Linked DNA regions of Homo sapiens: region 1 is linked to region 2. Evidence: promoter capture Hi-C in 16 types of primary human blood cells and fetal thymus (Javierre and others, 2016). All regions are on one chromosome and are shown on one strand. Each heading gives the region's core, a stretch centred on a gene start or on the middle of the fragment in contact. The rest is flanking DNA. Distances are from core to core; before and after follow the strand shown. Region 1 overlaps MYRIP (myosin VIIA and Rab interacting protein). Region 2 holds the start of MOBP (myelin associated oligodendrocyte basic protein).

Region 1 (6,316 bases), core at 1,829-4,328, 700 kb after region 2:
GTCAACTGACTGTAGATGTTAACCACATCTAAAGAATACCTTCATGGCAACACCTGGACTAGTGTTTGATTAAATAACTGGGTACTATAGCCTAGCCACGTTGACACATTGACCATCCCACCATCTAGCTGGTCTTCTGAACTTTGGCCACCTTGCCTTCTTAATCTTCCCTCCTACCCTTGCCAACCTTTCTCTCTGAAACACTGACCTGAACCTTCACTTTTTACCCAGTGTTCCACATCACTTTCATCCAAGAATTATAATCATAGCATCCAAAGCCTTCCTAGTTACAGCTCCAGGTGCCTACCTTCCAGGGATCCACACAGATATCTCTATCACACAGATAGTTATGCATATCTCTTAGGGGTTACTTATGTGTCTAATCACCCAATATCTTGGAAGGTACATGAGAGCATGGACTCAGTTTGTCCATCAGGTTATCACTGGGGCCATCACAGAGCCTAGCACACAAACGGTACTCAGTAAACATTTGTTTGATTCAACAAAAATTTGTAGATCTTTTCTGTGAAAAATACATCGGTGGCTATCTTGAAGAAGAGAGAGGGGAGATACAGTGTCTACCACCAGGGAGCTCTTAGTGTGATGACAACTTATATCGCATAGGCTCTAGTTATCAAAACATTGGAAAGACTGTGCAACCTGGTGGTGTGCAGAGCCCTGGGCTGGGTTGCCCCTACGTGGCTCTATCATGACTGTCATAGCTGGCTTGTGACATACTCATCAGCTAGCTAGATCACTTTGACCTTAAGTGGATTGTTTAGAGGCTTTATTATGTTTGCCAAATGATACTTTCTGTCTACATTTTTGTCCTTAAGAGCCTAAGAAGCTTGAATTATTTTTTAATTGAGTAATTAATGAATTGATATATTCACACCCTGTCTCATTCCACAAAGAATTTTCAACAGCTTACAGGAGATTTGCATGTGTTAAATAATATATGAGTAGGAGATTATAAATGGAAACAGGAGGTTGAAATTGGGGACAAGGAGACCCAGGTACCTAGCCCTTGCTGACCTACATTCCTGCACATGATGTGACTTGGACTTCTGGGGAAAACTAAGAGAAGGATGATAGAAATTCTCACAAGTAAGAAGCTAAAATCTAGGATCTCAAGGGAAACAGAACTTTTCCCAGCACTTAGCTCCAAAAAGAACTTTGTCACCTGGGGAAGTCCTTTATTTTCTCTCATTTGTTGCCATATCTTAAAAAAAAAAAAAAAAAGTTCACTAAAAGTATGGTAGCACTATATTTTTTAATCACGTTAGCTTGTATTCATCTCAGTTTTGTGGTTAAAATCAAGGGCTTTGGATTAGAAGGAATTTGGAATGGAATCCAAATTCAAATTCAGAGGAATTGGAATCCAGCTGGATTCAAATCTTTGCCTTCTTATTGTCTTGCTGTGTACCTTGGGTGAGTTATTTAACCACTCTGTGCTTCAAATTTACCATCTGTAAAATAGTACCTATATGGCACCTACTTACCACTGGATTTTTGTCAGAATTAACTGTGATCATGTGAAACTCTGGGCTTGGTGCCTGCCATGTGGCTGAGCTCTGAGGTTGGCCAGTGTTGTTAATACTGGTTGATAGTCCAAAAAATTATACCATAGAGTTTATATTTGCATTAAGTCATATGCACAGCCCATTGTCCTTAGTACATTTAATAACATTTTCCCCATCATCACAATATACATTATATGAACAAAATAAAGCATAATCTTTATCTGAGAAAGTAGATAAAGAACCATTATTTCCTTATATGAAGCCCTTTTGTTCAGTCACCTTTAAGCCATTCTGTGTGCTTAGACCAGTGCTTCATGTTAGGATACAACAATGAATATGATCAATTCTTGCTCTGTGAAAATGACCTGTGGGAAGGGGCCGGGGGTATGGAGCCTTTTTGGATGATGAAAGCAAGCCCAGAACCTGGGACAGACCTCCAGCCAAGGGCGGGGCTGAAGGGATCCGAGAAGATTTGTTAGAGGAGGAATTTTTGGGCCAAGCCTTGGGGTCCGTGGGAACCAGCTCAGTTATGGAGCAAGAGTCTAGGAGGGAGGAGGAATGAGATTGCAGGCATGAAAGAATCAAACAATTTGTTGCAACTGGGGCATGGGATGTGAATGATGCATGGGAGGCAGTGTGAGGCAGGTGGGAAGGGCGAGGGCTTTGTGTGCCATGGTAAACAGCTTAGAACTTATCCCAGAGCCCCTGAAGAATTTAAGCAGAAGAGCTTGAACAATCGTTTTACTCATCATTCCCTTTTAGAAATGCTCTTTGTTCTGTTTCCTGTCTAGGACATAGTGTGATGGACACCTTGGCTGTGGCCCTACGGGTGGCTGAAGAGGCCATTGAGGAAGCAATTTCCAAAGCAGAGGCATATGGGGACAGCCTGGTAGGGCCCCTCCTGCTCCTCTCTGTGGGGGGAGGTGTGGGTTGGGGTCCTTGCTGCCAGGAGAAAGTGCAGGTTGTCAGGAAATCAATGTCCCAGCAGCTCTGACTAGAGCAAGGCCCTCCCTCTGCTTTTGTGGTCAGGACTCTCCTGGCAAAGTGACTGCCAAGTCACCCCAAATCCACCCACAGCACACAGCCATTCTCTTCCCTCCTCAGGACAAGCAAAATGAGGCCAGTTACCTGCGGGACCACAAGGAGGAGCTAACTGAGGAACTGGCCACGACAATCCTGCAGAAGGTAGGTGGGTCCTGGCAGTGGGATGGCTGCAGTTTCCTGGCTGGGCCTGGTGCAGGGACTCTGGCAAGTAGCAGGTGAAACATGGGGAGTGTCTCTAGCACTGTATCTTCTGTGCCTTCTCACTTTAGACTTTTGTGCCCTGGGGACCCATGCAGAGGGAATGCATCGCACTGCTTGCTTGCTTTGCAGTCACTGCTGCTAGCTCCATGCCCTACGCTGTCCCTTGCATGGTGTACCTGTCAATTACTTCTGAGAAACCAAACACCCCAAAACTCTGTGGCTTTTGACAAGGATCTTTCTGTCTTCCACAGCCAATTCTCCAACACCAACTGAGAAGTGAAATTCCATTCTGATACTAACTTCTTCCTGGAGTTAGTGCAGACCCCACAAGTTAAGGGCCCAGTCCCACAAGACTGCCCCTACTTCAGACACCAGCCACAAGTTTCAGGTATCCCAAAGCCACCACACTTCTCCCTAGCCTGCTGCAAATTTGGGAGTTTCCATGACCGTGGACCCTCAATTCAATTATTTGCTAGAACTCACAGAACTCAGGAAAGTGCTTTACTTACCATTACCGGTTTAATATAAAGGGTACAGGTGAACGGCCAGATGAAGAGACACACAGAGCAGCAGGGTCTGGGGACAGGGTGTACAGAGCTTCCATGCTCTCTCTGTGAACATCACTCCCCCAACACATCGATGTATGCACCAACAAGGAAGGTTTCTGTGCCTTGTTGTATCAGAGTTTTTAGCCAGGTTTCAGTATGTAGGCAGGATTGATTAAATGATTGATTACCTGATTGAATGCACTCTCTAGTCTTTCTGCTCCCAGCCCTCTAATCATGTACTGTAGTTGGTTTTTCTGGCAACCTGCCCCCATCCTGAAGTTATCTAAGGACCTCACCTTGAATCACCTTGTTAGTGTAACAGACACTCCTATCACTCAAATAATTGCAAAGGTTTTTGAAACTGTGCCAGGAACTGGGGACAAAGACCAAATACAGATGCTCCTGAGCTTACAGTGGATGGGGTTAAGTCCAGATAGTAACCGCATCCTAAGTTGAAAGTATCATAAGTCAAAATGCATTCAATACACCTAACCTACTCTTAATATATCATAGCTTAGCCTAGCCTATCGTAAATGTACTCAGAACTTGCATTAGCCTATAACTGGGCAGAATCATCGAACTCAAAGCCTATTTTATAACAGTGTTTATTAGCTCATATAATTTATGGAATGCTGCACTGAACACACACCGCTTTCCCACCATCGTAAAGTCCAAAAATCTTAAATCAAGGACTATCTGTATATATGTTTTGTTATACCACAATTTATTTATTGCTCACACATCTGCAGTAGCTGCACTTCAAGCTATGGGTTGGGACAAAGTCAGGTGCAGCATGTTCACTCTGGGGCCCAACTGAGGGCACATCAGCTGCCTGTGGCCATGACAGGAGCACAAGCCAGCAAGAGGAAGCACACAGTGCTTGTTAAGGCCAAGGCTTAGCTCTAGCTTATGGTTACTGACTCCCCCCTCTCATCTCATTGGCCAGAGCAAGTCACACATCGAGCCCAAAGCCAAGGGCTGGGACGTAGATTCTCCCTATACTGGGAGGGTCTGCAGAGTCACACTAGAAAGTGCCGTATGCAGGAAGTGTTGAAAAACTTCAGTCTTCCCTTTTGGTCACGATAATTCACATCCCTTCCGTATGCCAAGTAGACTCACCACACCCAAAGACCCCCAAATGTCTCATCCAATCACAGTTCAAAGTACATTTGATCCAATTTTAGCTCCTTTTTAGCTGGAGATCTGTAAACTAAGCAAACAAATGATCTCCCCCCATATACCCAACATGCAATGTTGGAAGAGGGACAGGGAGGCAGCACTGGCCCTACCCACCTGCAGAGGGGAAGAATGGGAGGCACCGGCAGTCACTGGTCCTCAGCAATTCTGAAATCCTGCTGGGCAACATGGCTGGGTCCCCACCCTGCCATGGGAGATGGCACCTCAGTTGATTGTTCTCTGGGCTCTCAGCCTTCCTTTTCATCCTCCTGTCTGGCCTAAAGGAACATTGGAGAATATGCCCATCTTGGTGGCTTAGCACATTTCTTGACTGCTTCCTGCCTATAGGAAGTTGAAAGCCCAGAGACCTTGGTACGGATGGACTCACTAAATCCAAATGACTGTGCAAACGAGCTGGATTTGGAGCCATTCTGGTGACTCTTGGTGTCTACACCCTTGATAGGGCTTCCAGATGCTTCCTAAATTCAGGACTTACAACCAGAGGCTCTGGGTTTGAGATCCAGCTCCACCATTTATGAGCTGTGTAGCCTTATCCAATAACTTAGTCTCTCTGAGCCTGTTTCCTCATCTATAAAATGGAAAGAATTAGAATATGTACCTTCCAGAATTAAGTGAGGTAAAGCCTACACAATACCTAACATGAGGTCTGACACATGCTAGGCACTTAATAAATAGAGAAGCTGTTAACATCATAAAAGGATTATTTGTAAACTGTAAAATGCTTAGAATGCTCAAGGCTATAATTGTGCTGGTTTCTCATAGCGCAGATCTGAAACAGCCTGGTGTTCTGTTGAAATTAAGCTTATAAGTGGCTGAAAAAAATTCCAAAGATGGTCCCAGTTACTCCACATAGCATCAGGAGGCCTCTCCAATAACTTGCCCCTTTTTTGTCCTCCCCTCCCCAGATTATACGAAAACAGAAGAGCAAAAGTGAGCAGCAAGTGGAAGAAGAGCCAGGATGGCCACATCCCCAGAGTTGCAGCACAAAGGTGGCAGATGAGGGGACCTCAGCATCCCCTGGAGGCTACCGTGCTCCCGCTGCCCTCTGGGTGAGTCCCCAAGCAGTGCTGGTCTACCCTCCACACGTGCAGGTCTGGGGCACACATTTAACCCTCTGTAGTTGAATCAGGTGGCCACTGGCCAGGGTAAAAATTTCAGAAGGATGGGGAGCGAAATTGAAAGAGAAAGTGAGTGTGAGTCGGGGGCCAGGAAGGGTAAGAGAGGAGAGAAAAACACAAATGGTCTATTGATAATTATAGAGATAGATTTTACACAGAGACCAATTTAGGAAAAATACAAATGCTGATAGGCTGCATTTTTTTTTCATTCTGAAAAGAATTATACTGAGTCCAGTGGGGGAAAATAGCTTTATAAGGACCATGTGTACTCTTATAACCTAGATTGCTTGCTTTACTGAAACTGAAAAGTGACAGCGAGAAAATTACCACTGCTGTTTCAACCACCAAAATGGTCACATCTGGACACAGGAAGTCACAGTGTGGAGCCAACCTTTCTGTCTGTCACCTTGAGTCACAGAGCTCAGTGGTCTTTCCACAACCAAGGGTTTGGTGCTGTTCCTGTCTGCAGTAGAGTTGCTGAGTCTGTCACATCCTTTGTTACTGGTTTGAGTAAGCCCAGTTGAGGATATGCAAAGTGCTGGGGAAGGAGCTGGGTGGGGCAGGTTCTGCAAGAAACTGAGGGACTGGCCAGTAGGGCTCTGGTTCTGCTAGATATAGGTGCTCACAGTCTGGGACAGGGCAGCACACAGGTGCACTTCAAAACTGGAAAGTCAGGCATGGGAAA
Region 2 (5,956 bases), core at 1,148-3,647:
CATAACATGTGGGGATTGTCAATTGTAGCCAAAGTTTCTGTGGGAAAATCCTCTGTAGTGTTAGCAAGTTTCTTAATTGTGACTGTGAGTCCTGGGAGGTCTTGCTCTGTGTGGAACACAGGCTGCCATTCAAGAAGAGTGACACTGACTCAGACGTGGCCTCCCCAGTGGTTCTGGGAGTGAGGGTGCCACCGCACTAAGGGCAAACACTAACATTTAAGTAGAAATAGAAAAAGATGGCATTACAAGCATTTTGTGGAACCTCCATACTTTGGTTGTGTAAATTGTATATCACTCTATATATGGTGGAGTAGAAGATCAAAGATGGGACTTCCCCAAAATGTGTCATTAAGAACTTTTGTTGGAAAGATTTGAGAAGCAGAGGGTCTTTTAATAAAGATAGAGCTTTATAATATATCTACTAGATCTTGTATTTTTTAAATAGCCTGAATTAGTCTCCAGTTATTTTGTGAATAGAAAACAAGTCCTTACAACTGCCACCCACCCCTGTTGGTAACCTTCTTTAGGGCCAGGGCCATAAGAGTGACATTGGTGCAGGACTCTGTGTGCCAGGCATTCTTTCCACCAGTGAACACATATTAACTGATTTAGTCCTCACTCAAATCCTTGAGGTGGGTCCTGTGATGATCCTAGTGTCAGTGCCTCCAGAGCTCAAGCTCTAAACCATCTTACCCTACTCCCCAGCCCTCAGTCACAGTCAGTACAACACAAGCAAAATACTGGCATCACAGTGGGAGTGAATCAACCAGCATACGTCTATAACTCATTACTCAGAGAATGTTTAATTAACTATAAAGTTAGTATACGAAGAGGCCAGGCACGGTGGCTCAAGCATGTAATCCCAGCACTTTGGGAAGCCAAGGCAGGCGGATCACCTGTGGTCAGGAGTTTGAGACCAGCCTGGGCAACATGGCGAAACCCTGTCTCTACTAAAAAATACAAAAATTATTCAGGCATGATGGTGGGTGCCTGTAGTCCCAGCTGCTCGGGAGGCCGAGGCAGAAGAATAGCTTGAACCCAGGAGGTGGAGGTTGCAGTGAGGTGAGAGCGCCACTGCACTCCAGCCTGGGGGACAGAACCAGATTCCGTCTCAAAACAAAAACAAAAACAAAAATGTTAGTGTACAAAGAGATTTATAGTCAATGTTTGTAGTCTCACTGGATTACCTTTTCAAGGTTCCCTGGCTGATTCTTTACTGAGACAAGAGCCTAAAGAGAAACTTGGTGGTAATGTTGACATTTATATTACACTGTCATGGAGGGGGCGCTGGGAATTCAAAAGGCAAGGCTGCTGTTGGTTGGATTGGTTTCAGAAGTAAGCTTTCATCTTTCAAATCATTAGTGGGTAGTTCTAGTTCTACATATATAAAATAAATAGCAGAAGCAGAGTTACAGGACCCATGGCATTTAACAGAGCACAGAAAGGTGTGGCCCCACATTTTAGGTTAGGAAAATTATAAGAAAATGCCGGTGTCTAAGACTGAAGCCAATAAAATGTTAATTGAATGAGATTTATCATTCGCAGAAACTGTTCAACATAAGAGATGATTTATACGTGTTTTCATAAATGTGAATGCATAGGGTAATTGTCATGGAAACTTCCAAATTCAATGTTAGTTGTAACTAGACTGGATTAGACTCTTGCTAATCAAGTGTACAAGGGCATGCTTGTGTGAATTTTAGTTTTGGGGTGTATCTATGGGTATACATGAGTGTTTTAGGGAAGGAAGTGTGATCGGTATTTAATCTACATGGAGTATAAAAACTCCTGGAATTTGTCAATGTGATTGCAGCTGTGTTCATGGCTTATGGGTATGGCTTGTGATGTGTGAGTGAGGTATGGGGTGCTGGGTGGGATGGCGCTGTGGTGGCATAGCATGTTGGTGGAAGGGTGTGTGGTTTGGTAGGGTGAGCTGGTGTGTGGTGTGGTTGGACCTGGCATGGAACTTAACTGGAGTTTATGTGGAATGAACCTTGAGGGGTGAGTTTTCACATGGGGTGTTGATTATGTGGGAGGTGGGAGGCTGGAATATGTGAATGTTGGGGGGCTGTAGAGTGAATGTGGGGTGCGTGTGTATGTGTGTGTGAGATATGGTTATAGCTTAGCTTAGCTTTTGTTTAGATTTTCTTTTGCTCTTTGTTTTTGTCTTTGGCCTTTGTTTTATCTTTGTTTCGCTCTTTGTTTAAACTTTCTTTGGCTTTTGTTTGGTCTTTCTTTAGCCTTTTGTTTAAACTTTGTGTGGCCTTTTTGTAGTCTTTGTGTAGCTTTTGTTTTTAAGTGGATCTTCGCTGAGGACTCATCAAAAACACCTTGTGTAATGAAAAACCCAGATCTATAACCTCTCCCTATATATTCTGCATGCATTGAAGTAGGCTCAAACCCTCAGGGACCTGGTATAGACGCAGAATCTGTTTCACACAACAACTGCTATTTGAAGGTAAGAGGATTCCATTGGTTTTTATTTTACTTCATTTTATACTTTCATCTTTAAATGACAAGTGTACTTTTTTGTATGGGCCATTTCATTATATCCCAGGGAAAACTTTCTGTAAGAATAGTCAAGATTGAGAGGACATACAAGGATGGAGAAAACAAGAACAGAGGACACCATGTTTATTCTGATGTGGGCAGGGGGCCTCCTGGAATGTTCCTGCTAATGTTTGGAAATCGTCTGAGCCCAGAGAGAGGCTCTGAGCCCTTACTCAGATTTCCTCAGATTCAAAGCCCCATGTTCCTGGAGCTAGATGGATGGTAGTACATGCTGCTGCTGCTGCTGCTTTTTTTTTTTTAATTTATTTCTTCTTTTATTATTTGTCATGATTTAAAAATGAGTTTTTCTTCTTATCTAGGAACAATTTTTTTCCTCATACAGTTGGATTTATGTGTGGGGGATCTTAATGGAACAACAAAGCCCAAATCTTTTCGGAATTCTGCCCCCTGTAGACCAACAACCTTAAATGGAAAGGCGCTAATGCTTTGTCTGATACAGAATATCTTAGAAACAACAGGGAGTTTTCAGTTCTATGGATGACAGAGAAAGGAAAAAATATTATGTGTCAGGGAGGCGAGTAATGAACTTGGCCTACAGTACTAGCAGGAAAACGGGGAAAGGACTTTTTAATTCTTTGTGAATAAATCAGGGAGGCAGAGAGCAGGCTGCTGCCAGGTGTGCGGATATGCTGTTTCGTATTTAGAATGACAGGAAACTTGTTGGTGAGTGAGTTTTAAAAATTGTTTCAGATTTTCAGAAAAGTTGCAAACAATACAGAAAATTTCAGGTGCAGCCAAATTACCCAGATGTTCCTGTTTTACCATATTTCCTTTATCATTCTCTTTCTCTCTCTCTGTATCCATACATATGGGTGTATATATAAAAATATGTGTGTGTATATACATATATACATATGTGTGTGTATATACATATATACATATGTGTGTGTATATATACATATATACATGTGTGTGTATATATACATATATACATGTGTGTGTATATATACATATGTGTGTGTATACATATTACATATGTGTGTATATATACATATATACATGAGTGTGTATATATACATATATACATATGTGTGTGTATATATACATATATACATATGAGTGTGTATATATACATATATACATTGTGTGTATATATACATATATACATATGTGTGTGTATATATACATATATACATATGTGTGTGTATATATACATATATACATATGTGTGTATATATATACATATATACATATGTGTGTGTATATACATATATACATATGTGTGTGTGTATATACATATATACATATGTGTGTGTATATATACATATATACATATGTGTGTGTATATACATATATACATATGTGTGTGTGTATACATATATACATGTGTGTGTGTGTATATACATATATACATGTGTGTGTATATACATATATACATATGTGTGTGTATATATACATATATGTGTGTGTATATGTATAGATATATATACATATGTGTGTATATGTATATATACACATATTTATATCTAATTAATTTTAATTAAAATTTATTTTAATTGGAATTAACTAAAATTTATTTTAATTGGAATTAATTAAAATTTATTTTAATTGGAATTAATTAAAATTTATTTTAATTGGAATTAATTAAAATTAGAAAATTACTATTGAGAAAATACTGTTTTTAAATCTAGAGATATCTAGATTTCATCAATTGTCCAAGGAGCGAATTGAGAACCATGCATGACCTTTTGTTGTCCTGTCCCCTCAGCCTCCTTTAGTCTGGAACCACACCTGAGGCAGCTTTGACCTAGACAGTTTTGGAGAGTATAAGCCAGTTATTTTGCTAAATGTCCCTCAATATGGGTTTGGTCTGCAGTTTTCTCACAATTATGCAGTTTTCAAAGGAATAGGCTTGCATTTTAGATCATACATATCCAAATTCATACTTGAATCTGAGTATACAATTTTTAAATTCAAGATCTTGTTTACCTAATAGTTACTAGGATTTTAAATGAGTACCTAAAATCTTTGTACACCAAATTGCCAAAAATTAAAAATCTAGAGCTTTTACAGATAATTTCCAAGGAATCACCAAAAGTGTGTAAGTATTGCCCTTGGATTATAAATAGCAATTACAGTGACCTGTATGTGATCTTATAGGCTTAAAGTGAGGTATTCAATTTAGATTCTTTGTGTGTGTTGGAGTCATGTCTACTGCTCTCTGAGTATTAGTTTCATAAATATAATAATTCCTTTCTAAGTGCAACCATCTGCTGAAAGCAGATACAACTCAATAGAGTTTCCCTGGGTAGCCACTCCAGGCTGGCTGGCATCCTTTCGCGGGTTGACGGGGACGTCTGCCCTAGTGGAGGAGGCGGACCTCTGGCAACGCTGCAAAAAGTCTCCTGATCAAAAGTGTTTCCTACATGTTCTAGTACTCACACCTCAGCACTGAACTACAGACCACACCCATATTGAGGGACAACTAGCAAAATAACTGGCCAAAACTGTTAAAAACTGTCCCCTTATGGGGACAGGAATCAAAACTCTGAGATCCTTCAGCTGTACCAGACATTCGTAAAACAAGTCTTCTCAACAAAATCTGTGAGGTAGGAACTATCATTCACATTTTACAGAGAAGAAAATTGAGATCCAGAGACTAGCCTATGATTACACACAGCTAGTGAATGACAGAGCCTGGAACTCAAGTATGATATAAGCCTATTGAATTTATGGATGAGATGCATTATTCTTTTTTACTAATACATCACACACTTTACTTTAAAGTTACAAAAATTTAAGTTAAAAAGATGAGCTGAAAATGAACTAAGCAATATTTTAAAATAATTTTTATTAATGGTATAAAATTATTTGTACTCACTAAAAATATCAGTTGTATTTTTAATGAGAGTAATTGAGTTCAATGTCAAATTTAGTTTTTCCTCCTCTTTGTTAATTTAATAAAAAGATCTTCCTAGTAGTAGGGGCAGAGTTAGCTCTGCCTATTAAAAAATTAATTTGGGCTTATATTACTACCAGTATGATCTTAAAAGTCTTAAGTTATTCACTAGTTCCTTATGAAAGAATAAGTTCAGCTAAAACAGCTAAAAACCAGAAGATATAATCAACAAATCCACTCACCAGGCTCAATCTTCAATAATTTTCAGTATACTGAGAGCAAAGGGACAAGTGAAGGCACCCAGATGACCATCCATTGTTCAGGGCGTGGCTAGCTAACTTGTGCTGAATGAGGGTGGCAGGATCAACCCATGCATTAAATGTTAAATGTAACAATCTCATTTTTATCTTTGTAGATAACACATATGAAAAGAAAAGTCTTTTTTTTTTTTTTTGCGATGGAGTCTCACTCTGTCACTAGGCTGGAGTGCAGTGCACCAGCCTAGTGGCTCACTGCAACCTCTGCCTCCCAGGTTCAAGCGATTCT

Evidence for each region. The method cuts DNA at HindIII sites, captures the fragments that hold promoters and counts their contacts. A CHiCAGO score of 5 or more calls a contact.
Region 1: a fragment that was not itself captured here is called in contact with the fragment with the promoter of MOBP in region 2 in 2 of 17 cell types (erythroblasts and M2 macrophages); the score reaches 6.3 in erythroblasts.

What each region holds. Positions count from the first base shown.
Region 1 is chr3:40,164,532-40,170,847 of GRCh38, forward strand. It overlaps MYRIP (myosin VIIA and Rab interacting protein), which reads left to right. Exons shown (of 17, transcript NM_015460.4): 6 at 2,315-2,412; 7 at 2,628-2,708; 8 at 5,419-5,562. Among named protein-coding and RNA genes, the nearest start is that of EIF1B-AS1, 140 kb to the right of the region's middle. RefSeq lists enhancers at 6,077-6,126, 6,167-6,216. The HindIII fragment of the contact is 4,467 bases long and covers 846-5,312 here.
Region 2 is chr3:39,465,283-39,471,238 of GRCh38, forward strand. It overlaps MOBP (myelin associated oligodendrocyte basic protein), which reads left to right and starts at 2,398. Exons shown (of 4, transcript NM_001393704.1): 1 at 2,398-2,458. RefSeq lists an enhancer at 2,016-2,698. The HindIII fragment of the contact is 9,372 bases long and covers 1,339-5,956 here.